Regions from separate parts of the Homo sapiens genome. Here regions 1 and 2 are each linked to region 3. Evidence: promoter capture Hi-C in human tissues and cell types (Jung and others, 2019). All regions are on one chromosome and are shown on one strand. The core of a region is centred on a gene start or on the middle of the fragment in contact, and the rest is flanking DNA. Distances in the headings are between cores, read along the strand shown. Region 1 overlaps ZNF718 (zinc finger protein 718). Region 2 overlaps MAEA (macrophage erythroblast attacher, E3 ubiquitin ligase). Region 3 holds the start of MYL5 (myosin light chain 5).

Evidence for each region. Contacts are between HindIII fragments. The study calls those that stand out against the background at their distance.
Region 1: a fragment that was not itself captured here is called in contact with the fragment with the promoter of MYL5 in region 3 in 4 of the 25 tissues and cell types used here (dorsolateral prefrontal cortex, lymphoblastoid cells, spleen and 1 more).
Region 2: a contact is called between a fragment that was not itself captured here and the fragment with the promoter of MYL5 in region 3, in 1 of the 25 tissues and cell types used here (lymphoblastoid cells).

What each region holds. Positions count from the first base shown.
Region 1 is chr4:141,730-146,239 of GRCh38, reverse strand. The region is part of intron 3 of ZNF718 (zinc finger protein 718); the gene reads right to left. Among named protein-coding and RNA genes, the nearest start is that of ZNF718, 19 kb to the right of the region's middle. The HindIII fragment of the contact is 4,248 bases long and covers 968-4,510 here.
Region 2 is chr4:1,298,601-1,303,148 of GRCh38, reverse strand. The region is part of intron 1 of MAEA (macrophage erythroblast attacher, E3 ubiquitin ligase); the gene reads right to left. Among named protein-coding and RNA genes, the nearest start is that of MAEA, 11 kb to the right of the region's middle. The HindIII fragment of the contact is 9,660 bases long and covers 1-4,548 here.
Region 3 is chr4:671,001-675,931 of GRCh38, reverse strand. MYL5 (myosin light chain 5) reads right to left here and starts at 1,390. Exons shown (of 9, transcript NM_002477.2): 1 at 1,249-1,390. ATP5ME (ATP synthase membrane subunit e) reads left to right here and starts at 1,656. Exons shown (of 4, transcript NM_007100.4): 1 at 1,656-1,720; 2 at 1,966-2,020; 3 at 2,531-2,629; 4 at 3,413-3,496. The coding sequence starts at 1,685. The coding sequence ends at 3,432. RefSeq lists enhancers at 820-889, 767-1,524 and a silencer at 1,100-1,369. The HindIII fragment of the contact is 2,744 bases long and covers 1,117-3,860 here.

The sequences.
Region 1 (4,510 bases), core at 1,842-4,341, 530 kb after region 3:
TTAAAAAATAAGTTGAGGGAATTTATAATCACTAGACCTGTCTTACAAAAAAATGTTAATGAGAATTTTTCAAGTTATAAGGATGGAATCCTAACTTACAGCAAGAAAACATATAAAAGTATAAATCTTACTGGAAAACATATATATATATATATATATATAGAAGGCTATATCACTAATTATGGTGCATAAATCACTTTTAACTCTGATATAAGTTACAAAAAAAGCATTAAAACACATATAGCTTCAGTATATTTGTTAACAGGTACACAATATTAAAAAAAAGTAAAGGGTGACATAAATAGTGTGTTAAAGGAAGTAAAATTGTTTAATTTTTCTATACATAGAAGGTAACTTTTGCTTGAGGCCTGGAGTTCAAAACCAGCCTGGTCAATATAGCGGGACTCTGTCTCTAAAATAAATACATGAATAAAATAAAATAAAGATCTCACAAAGCTGTTTGGTTTTTTTAAAAAAAGAAGCACTGGGTGTGATGTCTCATGCATGTAATCCTAGCACTTGGAGAGGCCAAGGCAGGTGGAGTGCTTGAACCCAGGAGTTCAAGACCAGCCTGAGCAACATGGCAAAACCCTGCCTCTATATAAAGTACAAAAAAAAGTAGACAGACTTGTGCTTGTAGTCCCAGCTACTCAGGAGGGTAAGGTGGGAAGATTGCTTGAGCCTGGGGAGGTCGAGGCTGCACTAAGCTGTGAATGTACTGCACTTCAGCCTGAGTAACAAAGGAAGACCCTATCTGTACAAAAAAAGAAGTTACATTGTTATCTCAAGCTAGACTTTTATAACTATGAGATGTTTTATGTAAGTCTCTTGGAAATTAAAATAAAAATGGCAGTAGATACAAAAGAAAAAGAATCAAAGCATATAAGAAAAACAAAACAAAAATTCAAGAAAACGCAAGGGAAGAAAGCATGAAAGAATTAAAACACAGAAACTACTAACTGGTCAGAAAACAATGAACAAAATGGCAGTAATAAGTTCTCATCAATAATTCCTCTAAATAGAAAAACATTTACTTATCCAGTGAAAACATATTGCTATTGTTTGAGTGTCCCTCCAAAATTTATGTTAATATTTAACTGCCACTGTGAGAAAATGAAGTGAGCCCCTTAAGAAGCTATTAGGTTATGAGAGCTCTACTCTCATGAAAGGGTTAGTATCATTATTCCCACACTGGGAATTAGTGGTTCGAAGATGAAAAAGAATATTCCATGCCAATAACTAAAAAAGTGTACGAGTGGCTATATCAAACAAAAGAGACATATAGAAAAAAAAAATCTGTCACAAAAAAAACTTTGCATATGATGGGGTCTTATATTTGAAAAAACCTACTTCACTAAAACACCATTAGAACTCATACATTTAGTCAAGATACAGGATTAAAAAATTAGTGTTTCTACATGCCAACAGTGAACAATGTGAAAATCAAACCAAGAGAGTAATTCCATTTACGGTAGCCACAAATTAAAATTAAATACCAGGAATGAACTTAACCAAAGAAGTGAAAGATCTCTATGATGAATACTATAAAACATCGATGCAAGAAATTAAACAAGAGAAAAAAAAGGAAAGATATTTTATGTTCATGAATAGGAAGGATCAGTATTATTAAAATTTTCATACTACCCAAAATGATCTACAGATTTAATGCAATTCCTATCAAAGCATCAATGACATTCTTCACAGAAATAGGAAAAACAATCTTATAATGTAGACAGACCCATAAAAGACTCAAAATAGCCAAAGCCATTGTACCAGAAAAGAAACTGGAGGAATCATAGTATTTGAATTTAAATGATACAACAGAGCTACCGTAATTAAAATGGCATAAAACTGATCAGTAAAACAGTAGAGCGAATGCAGAGATAAATCCATATTACAGCAAACTTCTTTTTGACAAAGCTGTCAGGAATATATTGTTACCGCTAGAAAGTATCCGGGTTCTTGGCATCTTGAACAAAGAATTGGACAAAATACACAAAGCAAGGAAGGAATAAAAGGATTTACTAAAAATGAAAGTACACTCCACAGTGCGGGCCCGAGCATAGGGGCTCGAAGGCCCCCTTACAGAATTTTTGGGAGCTTAAATACCACCTAGAGTATTCCATTGGTTACTTTGGGTATGCCCAACGTAAATGGAGAGGGTGAAGTAAATTTAGTTATTAACGGTGGATGCCCTATGGAGAGGATATTTCCTGTTATAGCTGAAGTGTGAATTGGGCTTATGGTCCCTGCCTCCAGACCGTTTTCCTGCCTCATGTCCCCCGAGAGATGTGATCCCCATAAATCCTTATAGGAGACGGGGGGGTCAACGGTCTTTTTCTTTCTGTAACTGCTTTATGCTGGCTTGGGGCATAGTCCCTGTCTATTGGGGATCACAGTACTCTCGCCCTGTTCTGTCTAGTGGAGGCAGGGTAGTTTCTTGATGGCCAGGGGTGTGTTTTCACCTGGAACTGGCTGGAGATTTCACTGCATGATCAGTGAAGCTTGATGGTCTCTAGGCAAGAGCAAACGTGTTTGGTTAAAAGATATAATGGGGGTGGATACCTATGCTGTTAAGAATGTTTGTTACAGAGATTTGCAGGAGAAAAAAAACCTGATTTGTTCTAGAATTTATGTGTTTCCTTAAAGTCTTGGCACAAGCAACTCCATTTTGTTTTGGTCTGTTGGTGCCTAGTGTATGAGCTTAGTCCAAAACAATGGCATCCCAGAATTTTGTTTAAAAACTTCCCCCTTGGCCGTGCACACTGGCTCACGCCTGTAATCCTAGCACTTTGGGAGGCTAAGGCAGGTGGATCACAAGGTCAGGAGTTCAAGATCAGCCTGGACAAAATGGTGAAACCCCGTCTCTACTAAAAATAGAAAAATTAGCCAGGCGTGGTGGTAGGCACTAATCCCAGCTACTTGGGAGGCTGAGGCAAAGAATTGCTTGAACCTGGGAGGCAGAGGTTGCAGTGAGCCAAGATTACACCACTGCACTCCAGTCTGGGTGACAGAGACTCCGTCTCAAACAAAACAAAACGAAATTCCCCCTTTTTGGTTAGGTTCTCACTTAGATTAGTGTGTGTCCAAAATTTAGGGCCTTAGAGCCACTCTCAGTTACCATCATTTTGGATTTCTGGTCTCAGCACATTATTTATAGGTTACGGTGTTCTCATGGTTGCACGTTTCTTTTAGCTTCTGTTATTCTAGTTGAAGAGAGACCATATGACATCCTAGAGATGGCTGCATGCAAGCATTTAAAACCTTTGAGAGAATACAGCACACAAGGGAGACTATTATTATGACTATTGGGAGGAAAATACCAAGAGTTCACAGTATGCTCCTTACTCAAGGTTTCCATAAACCAAACCTCGTAAAATTAAATAGATCAAAGAATGAGCCAGATAAAGAGTTTACTTACTTAACTAAGCAATTTCTTTGTTAATCCCCTACCACTGAATTTCTATAATCTTCATTTGATGTATTTCTCCATAAGCCACAAGTGCCAGCAGCTGCACAGGTACCTCTTTGTTTAGTCAATTCTATTATAACTTTCACAAAAGAATTTAAAGTCTATTGTGTAACTGTAGCCTTTACAGTAGAATTTGCTATAGAGCCTATCATGAGGGATACCTTTTTAAATCATTGCTTCTTTTACTTTAAACCATGGGAAAGGACCTAACAAATGATGCCCCTCTAGAAGAGTGAAGGCCTCCTGGCAATGGTCTCTTTAGCCCACGGTGTGGGTTAACAGGAGTGAACCAATGTTTTGTTTTTGGACTGATTATGAGGCAATGTATGTACCATTAAAGTTTCTTACTTACACTGACTGGGCTTTCATCTTTTATTTATCTAAGTATAAGCTTATCCATATATAAGGCTGGCTGCAAACTCCTTCACAAATAGAAGTATACTCCATAAATGCACTTAACAGATCCCTTTTCTACTTTTAATGTTTGTAGAAGCATAAGAAAAAAAATTCAAAGGTAAGAGTTTTATGATAGAAGTTTTAATTTGTGAACTTGGGAAAAGCTGTTTACATCAAGGATGCCATCTTCTTGGGAGAAATCTCCCTGGTTAGCTTCACCTCAAGGGTTCCAATGGCTGCACAGTTCCAAAAATGTGGAGGGACCCTTATCAAAACCCGTTAACCTAAAGCCCAAAGTCCTGACATTTTGTTGTAGTGTGGGTGGCAAGGACAGTTTTTCTCCTATGTTCTCAGAAGATTTAAACCATAAAAAGCTTTTTTACCTGCTGGAAATATACTGTAGCATAATAATCTCAGCCTCCTTGCATAGTAAAGCTTTTATACAACAGAAAACATGCATTGAAAATAACAACTGAATGAAATCCCTTTATAAAATGTTTAAATGGCCCACCAGGTGACCAAATATACCTGAAGCTTTAATTGTATTGTATTGTTTTGGTATTTAATTTTTGTTTTACTTGTGTTAGTAGGTCAGTAGCTTTATACAAGGAAATTTGATTATTTCTGCAGTTTATAATAACA
Region 2 (4,548 bases), core at 1,604-4,103, 630 kb before region 3:
CCAAAGTGCTGGGATTACAGGCATGAGCCACCACACCCGGCCCGAGGATGACATTCTTAAGAGTTTCTACTGGTCTTGGGGATAAGCTGAGGAGGGGAGCTGCCAGGTCCTATGGTAACTCCGTGTGTCACCTGAAGAACGGCCAGGTTGTTTTCCGAGGTGGCTGCGTATGAGGATTTCAATTCCCCACATTCACACCCAACAACTCGCCATTGTTTTTGCTACAGCCCTTCTGGTGGGGTAGGAAGCAGCACCTCACTGTGGTTTTGGTTTGTATTTCCCTAAGGATTAATGATGTGCTTAGTGGCCATTTGTATATCTTTGCAGAAGTTTGCTAAAATTGTGTGCTCATTTAAAAAATGTTTTCTTGGCTGGGCGCGGTGGCTCACGCCTATAATCCCAGCACTTTGGGAGGCTGAGGCGGGCGGATCACGAGGTCAGGAGATCGAGACCAACCTGGCTAACACAGTGAAACCCCGTCTCTACTAAAAATACAAAAAAATTAGCCGGGCATGGTGGCAGGTGCCTGTAGTCCCAGCTACTTGGGAGGCTGAAGCAAAAGAATGGCGTGAACCCGGGAAGCGGAGCTTGCAGTGAGCCGAGATGGCGCCACTGTACTGCACTCCAGCCTGGTGACAGAGTGAGAATCCAACTCAAAAAAACAAGTTTTCTTTTGCCTTTGTATTAATGAACTAGAAGAGTTCCTAACCTATTCTGAATACTAAACCCTTAACAGATATATGACTGGCAAACATTTTCTCCCTGTTCTGAGCAGCTGTCTTAGTCAGCTCAGGCTGCTGTAACAAAAATATCACAGACTGGGCAACTTAAACAGCAAACACTGATTTCTCACAGTGTAAAGTACTTTTGTTGCATCTATTGAGATGATTATGTGGTTGTTGTCCTTCATTCTATTAATATGATACACGACATTGATTTTCACACGTTGAACCAACTTTGCATTTCTGGGGGAAATCCTACTTAGTCCTGACACATAATCCTTTCTATATTTTGTTTTCTTAGATTTTCTTAGTTTTCTAAGATTTTGTTGAATATTTTGGCATCTATTTTCTCTCATCTGGAACAATGGTCTATGGTTTTCTTGTGATGTCTTTGTCTGGTTCAAGGTTATATCAAAGTTATACTGGCCTCATAGAAGGAGGTGGGATGTAATCCCTCCTTAACTGTTTTTAGAAGAGTTGGTATAAATCCTTCTTTAAATGTTTAACAGAATTCATCAGTGAAACCATCTGGTCTCAGGCTTTTCTTTGTGAGGTTTTTTGTAGTAACTTCACCTGTTATAGGTCTATTCGGTCATCACTTTTAACTTACAAAAATAACAACTGTATATGATTCAACCTAACACTTTTTTCCTTCTACACATTTTGTCTGTGTCCCTTGTCCAGTGCTTATTTATTTTTACTTATTCACTTACTTATTCATTCATTCATATAGGGCGTCACTCTGCTGCTCAGGCTGGAGTGCAGGGACACAATCATGGCTCACTGCAGCCTTGAGCTCCTGGCTCAAGTGATACTCCTGCCTCAGCCTCCCAAAGTGCTGGGATTACAGGCATGAGCCGCTGTGCCTGGCTTGGTATTTGCTTTTAAATTCTGGTTCTATCTTTTCTGGTTATACCAAAGAATTAAACTTTTATTTATCACATCTCCCCAATTTTTCCTAAGTAATTTGTTGCATTACAGCTTTTTATGTTCACGGGATTTCTCTACTTAGCGAATGTTAAATTACATCTCCTCCAGTACATCTTCCCCTTTGGTGACTCACAGCAGTAATCCTCCCTGATTTCGTCACTGAAACAGAATGTGGCAAGCAGTGTGAGTGGAGACATGCGTGAAACGTCTGCACCTGCCCGCCCGCTGCCCCCACACGGTGCCATCAGCTTCAGGATGCGCTTCCTCAAACCTTCTCCAGCGTTTGCCGTGCTTCTGACAGAATTTGCTGACAAAACGCAACGCATTTCAGTGTGTCATCATCATGTTTTCACCAGCACGGGAAGGAAGAATTTCCCCAATGCATGAGGCTCTTTGTCTTTTGCAATTAACCAGAAGAGGTTTCTAAATATTGATCACGAAGCTCATCACAGGGCCAGAAGTGCTGGATTAAGCCCTGGGTGGCAGTTTACATCCCTCTCCGTCCTGGAGGGGCCAGTCTCATGTTCTGGTGCGGGGCATGTAATCACGGTGGCTTCCTGCCATCCTGAGCTAATCTCCCCAAGCACAGCACATACCCTGAGGGAGGCTCACCAAGGAAAAACGCTTCGAATCCCCTAAGAGGCTTCTTGAAAAAATGACACTTCCAGTCAACTTCTGAGGGGATGTAACCAGATTGATGTTGCGCCCTACAAAGCTCGCAGTGGCAAGAGTGCTGTCGGCCCTGAGCTCTGCGCTCCCTGTTGTGTGCACGCCCAGTTAGGCCCAGCCTTAGCCAGCCACTTCCTTGCAGGAACCTTTTAAAGCCACTGGTCCGTCTTGGAAAGGGTATGCGACCTGCGGCAGCGGCACACACGCACGCCACGCAGCCCCAGCCTCGGAAGCCGGCAGCACGGAAGAGCCGGGGCCGTGCCCCACGCGGTCCAGTGCCCTCATCCCCAGGTCACTCCCTGACCAAACAACAGAGACTGCAAGCGGGCAGGAGTGTCAGTTCATAATCACAACATCAGCAGAGCTTCCTCTCTCACCTTTCCATAAAGTATTTCAAAGGGAGCCAGCTGTTCTGCCACAAGGTCACAACTTTGGCAGTTACATACCTGGCTGTGGTGTCTGGCAAGGCCCAGCCCTTCTTGGTGTCCCTTTCATTATAAATAAGAAATATTTATCAAACACAAAAAGAACAATATGATATCATTACGGTTTTCATGCAGAAACACGGCATCCTCTGCTAGTGCCAATCTTCCTTCGGGCCTTTCCTGAAACAGCTCCGTGGCAGTCAGGCTGCCTGCTAAGGATGCTGTTGGATCGTCTGTCTCTGCTGCTTTGGGTTATGGTGAATGGGATGTGTTCTAACTGGCTGGCGGTGATATAGAGGGTGGCGACTGGGTTTCGTGCACTTACTGTATGCCCCGTTATTGTGCTGACTTTCTCAATGGTTACATTTACTTCTATTTCAATTCTTACTGCTTTAGACAGAATTGCCAAAATAATATTTAATATTATTTTGTTCATTTGTTAATTGGAGAATTTATTTCTTCTCTATCCTTCAAAAGAGCTTATAATCCCAGTGGTCAGAAACAAGCAAAATACCGTTATGTGAGACAGCGGTCACGACTCACGAGGGAAAAGGGCAGAAGTGGGAGATGCTGGGGCTGCAGTTTCAACAGTGGAGTCAGAGAAGCTTCACAAGCTGACAGCTCAGCGAAGATTGAAGGAGGTGAGGACATGGGACCACGGACGTTGGCAAAGATTGAAGGTGAGGACATGGGACCATGGACATCTGTGGAAGGAGCGCTCCAGACAGAGGAAGGTGGCAGTAAAACCCTGGGCTCGGCATGCTGGCCTGGCTGAATGGCGGCAGAAAGGCCACTGGGCCCAGCACCCTACAGGGCAAAGGGCCTGGGAGCCACTGTAACGACCCTGGCCTTCATCCCCAGGTCAGGAAACTCCTAGAACAAAAAGACGACAGGATCTGGCGCTGGGGCAGCCGGGGTGGGCATGAGCAGAGCAGGAGCAGCCAGAAGGCTATTCAATATTCCAGAGAGAGATGCGACTTGAGCCGCAGGGGCAGAGGTGGGAAGAGCAGCAGCAGCTGGGCCTGGGCATGTCCTGACGCCAGGGTGGAGGGGCAGACGGGCTGGGCATGAGCTGTGACAACAGAGGCATCAAGGCCAACCTGAAGGTTCTGGCCTGACCAAGGGAGATGGAGGGGCTGCCCTTCCCGAAGAGAAGGGAGACTGGTAGAATTGGTTTGGGCAGCAGGTGTTAAGATGATAAGCTCAGATCTAAATATGCCAAGGAGCTGGGCATGGTGGCTCACACCTGTTATTCCAACACTTTTGGACGCCCAGGAGGGAGGAATGCTTGAGCCCAAGAGATGGAGACCAGCCTAGACAACGGAGCTAGAACCTATCTCTACAAATAAAAAAATTAGCCAGACACGGAAGCAGGCGCCCGTGGTCCCAGTTACCCGGGAGGCTGAGGCAGGAAGATCACCTGAGCCCAGGAGGTCAAGGCTGAAGTGAGCTGTGATCATGCCACTGCACTCCCGCCTGGGTGCCAGAGTGAGATCCCATCTCTAAAAATAATAATAATTTTAATAATAATAATTTTAATGCCAAAGTGCCTTGCCAAGTGGGTATGTTTTACAGGCTACTGGATACAGGGCTCTGGGGTTGGGAAGATACCTGCCTGGGAGTCATCAGTATACACAGAGGGTCCTATCAGTCCACTAGACCCTGTGAGAGCACCAAGGCAGCGGTGCTCACAGCAACACCCAGGGCCAAGGACTGAGCCCGGGGGGAAACGCGAGGATGGCGCTCTAGGAGCCCGAGGGGGTGAGCTGTGTTCCAGCCCTGTGAGAGGTCGAGATGGGCAG
Region 3 (4,931 bases), core at 141-2,640:
ACAGTTTTTCCGTGTTGGGGAGGAAGGTTTCGGGATGAAACTATTCCACCTCAGTTCATCAGGCATTAGATTCTCACCAGAGCGCAATCCAGATCCAAGTGCGCAGCTCACAGTAGGGTTCACGCTCCTATGGGAATCTGATGCCCAGGCTGATCTGAAAGTGGGTGGAGCTCGGGCAATCATGCTCCCTCACCTCGTCCTGTGCTGCCCGGTTCCTAACGGGCCACAAGCTGGTACTGGTCTGCACCTGGGGGTTGGGGACCCCTGCCCTATAGGACTGGCCTTGGTATACCCAGCTCAGGAAACAGAGCCCAGTGACTTCCTAGTTTCTCAGCCAGAGAGGCCCAGGCCCTGGACCCCAGAGCAAGCCAGGAGAGGGGGCAGAGGCGACTTAGGCCCGGACAGGTAGCCCAGGCCGCCAGGATCACGGGTCCTCCCCATGCTTGCTTCAAGAGTCCTGGAGTTTGTGATGCTGCACCTTAGCGAGACCCGAGCCATAGTTCTCCAGTTGCTTCTGCCTGTAGCAGTGCAGGGCCAGGAGGGGACACAGGAGGCCTTGCGTCACTACTGCATGGGGCCAAAGGGGGCCCGAGGGTGGCCCAGCACGGGCAGCATGGCTGCCGCCAGGAAGACCCAGAACGTGGAGGGGGTGCCAGGCTCCTGCCTAGACTCCAAGCCTGGTGTCCATGGGGCTGGCGGGTCAGCACTTCGGGCACAGCGGGGAGGCTGCATAGGCACCGCAGGCCCCATCTCTGGGCAGCTGTGGGAGACACACAGCTACCGGGAGGTGGACAGAGGCCAGCAAAGACCAGTGTGGGGCTCAGTGGTCCCCAGGCCTGGGCCGGGGCAGGCCCTTGGAGCCGTGGAGTCCTGAGGCCTGGAGTCGGGGGACCCAGGGAGCAGCCTCTGTTGGGGGCTGGTCTTCCCAAGAAGATCCCAGCCCCTCTTCGGGACAGAAGTGATGGGGCATCCTGGGGTGAGGAAGCTCCAGCTCCGGGATGAAGGGCGCCCCGTGCTCCCGGGCAGAGCAGCCGCAGGAAGAGGGGCCTGGAGGCCATGCTCCCGCGGGCCGCGGAATCCAACGCGGCCCGGCCGGCGACAGACACTACTGCCTTGTAGGAGAAGGACCTGCCCGGGGAGCCACCTGCACTCGGCTCACACTCCGCTCCCAGGACCCCCAGGTCCCTGCCCAGGCCACCCTCGGGTGGGCGCGGTCCGCGGGGCTGGACCCGCCCGAGCCGCCCTGACCTCAGGCCTCCGACGCTCCGCGCAAGAAGACAGAGTGCGCCCCGGCCCGCAGTCTGGGGTGTGGACACACGGCCAGGACGCGGACGGCGGGGCCTCGGCAGCAGCGCGGGGAAACAGCGGACCCCCAGCCCTGCGGGGAAAGGAAACCCCCCGCCCACTCGGCGCAGATCCCGCCTCACGCAGCAACTGCGCAGGCGCAGCCGATGATCCTCCGCGCACTCCCCAGCCTTTGTGCGCGTGCGCCTCACGTGACGTCACCGCCGCGCGGGGGCGCGCAGTCACCCTTCGGTCGCCAGGGGGCGCGGCCCCCCGCTCTCTCGCCGCTGACGGCGCATGCGTGCGCCCAGCTCCGCCTTTGCCTCCAAGGCTTTGCTGGCTTGTGCGGCATCCTGCTCCGTCTGCAGGTTGTGCTTCCGGTGCGGAGGTCAGGGACAAGATGGTGCCACCGGTGCAGGTCTCTCCGCTCATCAAGGTGATCCAGGCTTTGCAGCCGCCGCCCAGTGCTCTGGGCCCCCCCGTGTCCCGCCCCGCAGCTCCGACCCCGCGGGCTGCGACCCCCGGCCCCCGCCCCCATGATCCTCGCCCCGTGACCCTCGCCCGGCGACCGGACCCCCACCCCTCCTGCGACCTCTGCCCAGCGACCCCGCCCCCCCTCCTCCCGCGACCCCCGTCCCGCGAGCCCCGTTTCGCGCCGCCTCTGACCAACCTCTTTCGCAGCTCGGCCGCTACTCCGCCCTGTTCCTCGGTGTGGCCTACGGAGCCACGCGCTACAGTGAGTGACCGCGGGCGGGGCCGGGGCGGGGTCTGCTCGGCTTTCCTGTGGAGCTCCTGTGCTATTTGGAGAACTCCAGCTCTGGAAGGGGGCTTGGGACGCATGCGAGGCTGCAGGACCGTGTCCTCCACCGAGCGTGACCCCGATAGTGGAATCAGCTCACCCAAAGCTCAGGCTTCTGAGGCCCGGGCGGGGGACTCGAAAACGGCTGCTTCTTGGTGAAAACGGGTGCTAAATGGCTGTTCGAGTGCTGAGGTCTTGATGGGAGGCAGTCCCTGTTCGCAGAGGACGAGTGAGCCAGTGCGTGAGCGGGTGGGCAGCAGGGGCCCTGTAGCCTCTGGGTTGGACTCGTCAGGGTGAAGGTCAGGCGTTGACTCGCATTAACATAAAGAGCGGGAACAGCAGGTGCGTCTGGTTTACAGCGTCGCTGAAGATACCTTGACCTGTGGACTCAGTTCCTTTTGTACAGCATTTCCAGTGAATTTTATTCTCCTGCATTCCGCCAAACAGATTACCTAAAACCTCGGGCAGAAGAGGAGAGGAGGATAGCAGCAGAAGAGAAGAAGAAGCAGGATGAACTGAAACGGATTGCCAGAGAATTGGCAGAAGGTACGAGTGACACTGGCTCTTATAGATTGTCCCTCCCAGGTTTGTGCAGGGATAAGGAAAATGGAGGAGGACATTTAAGCAGAGCTAAGTAGATGCGGATTGTTTAAAAATGGGGAAGCTGGCCAGGCGTGGTGGCTCATGCCTGTATCCCAGCACTTTGGGAGGCCAAGGCGGGCAGATCACCTGAGGTTAGGAGTTCAAGACCAGCCTGACCAACATGGTGCAACCCTGTCTCTACAAAAATTAGCCGGGCATGGCCCGGTGCGGTGGCTCATGCCTGTAATCCTAGCACTTTGGGAGGCTGAGACAGGCAGATTGCCTGAGCTCTGGAGTTCGAGACCAGCCTGGGCAAGATGGTGAAACCCCATTTCTACTAAAATACAAAAAATCAGCCGGGCATGGTGGCAGGCACCTGTAATCCCAGCTACTCAGAAAGCTGAGGCATGAGAATTGCTTGAACCCGGGAGGCGGAGGTTGCAGTGAGCTGAGATCACGCCACTGCACTCCAGCCTGAGCAGCAAAGTGAAATTCTGTCTAAAAAAAATTAGCCAGGCATGATGGCGGGTGCATGTAATCCCAGCTACTCAGAAGGCTGAGGTGGGAGAATCGCTTTAACCTGGGATGCAGAGGTTGCAGTGAGCTGAGATTGCGCCATTGGGTGACAGAGCGAGACTCCGTCTCAAAACAAAAAAAAAAAAAAAAAAAATAACTGGGAAGCTGAAGTGGTCTTTTTAGGTTGCCTGAGTGGTAACATGTGCTTTTCTTCTAACCTTCCGGCCCAAGATGACAGCATATTAAAGTGAGTGACCCTGCGACCCACTCTTTGGACCAGCAGCGGATGAATAAAGCTTCCTGTGTTGTGTGATACTCCGGCTCCTCATTTGCTGTCGCTGGTTGTGGAATTCCTAGGTTGAAGTTCTGTCCACCTCCCAGTTCACGTGAGGTGGAAGACAGGGAGGGGGTTTCAAAAGAATCCACATTACCATTCACAGACCCAGAATGCATCATGTAAACACAGTGGGAAGGACAGATGCGCGCTGCCTGTTCTGTCTGGGGCATCCAGGTGGGGAGCCCCAAAGGCCGTCTGTAATGGAGTCAGTCAGCTGGGGGCCTCATGAGTACTGGGGTTGTCTTGATTCTGAGTTCTAGGCTGCTGCTCTCAGCAGCCCAGACCCCTGGATGGGGAGGGGTAGGCACTGACTGACGCCCTTACAGTTGGGAAGCTGGGTCCTCCTCCACAATAACCCCTCGCCCCAACCTGCCATTTCACAAATCCTCCCTTTGATCCCAGGAAGTGGCCAGGTCAGACTTGGGACTAAAAGTCTGGTGATGTGACCTCCTGAGCACAGGGCCTGAGTGCTGTTTGAGTTGTGCAGGGAGGTGGTCTTGTGGTGCCTGAGCCACTTCCCTCCCCAGCAGGCTTCCTGGGCTTCTCGCCCCTCCTGGCTGTGAGCTTGCCAACAACCCAAACCCTTGGCCTGGTGGTTTGCAATGGACAGATTGAATTTGCTACTTCCCAGTTATGTGCCTTGAGCAAATCTAGGCTTGGAGCCCCAGTTTGTAAAATGAGTTCGTTTGCAAATATAAGGCCAAAGGGAGAAGCAGCCTATAAGCTTTTCAGGACATTTGGTTAAGGTGAGCTTTGAGTGAGCAAGATACTTTCACATCCTGTCCTGGCGTCCAGAGGGGCTGTTTGCAGGATCCCTCAGAACCTCTTAAGAGCCCCTCATCCCAGACCCAGGCTCTGGATACCAGGGGTCTCTGACCAGTGAGATGAAAAGGCTGGGCACGGTGGTTCACACCTGTAATCCCAGCACTTTGGGAGGCCAAGGTGGGCAGATCACTTGAGGTCAGGAGTTCAAGACCAGCCTGGCCAACATGGCGAAACCTTGTCTTTACTAAAAATACAAAAATTAGCTGGTTGTGGTGATGGGTGCCTGTAATCCCAGCTACTCAGGAGGCTGAGGCAGGAGAATTGCTTGAACCCGGAAGGTGGAGGTTGCATTGAGCCAAGATCACACCACTCCACTCCAGGCTGGGTGACAGAGTGAGACTGTCTCAAGCAAAAAACCCAGCACCCCCTTCCTGCAGCCCCATGGCTGTGCTGGGCATGTCTGCTGCTCTCCCACGCCCACCCCAATGAGCCCATCTAGTTAAGCGTCATCTAGTGTTGGGAGCAAATGCCTTGGAGCTCACATCATGAGTTGAACATCCTGAATTTAACATAATACCGATTTCAACTGGGAAGTCCGTTTCTTTGCCTCTGTCCTTCACTCCAGGCTCACCAATATTTAATCATGGG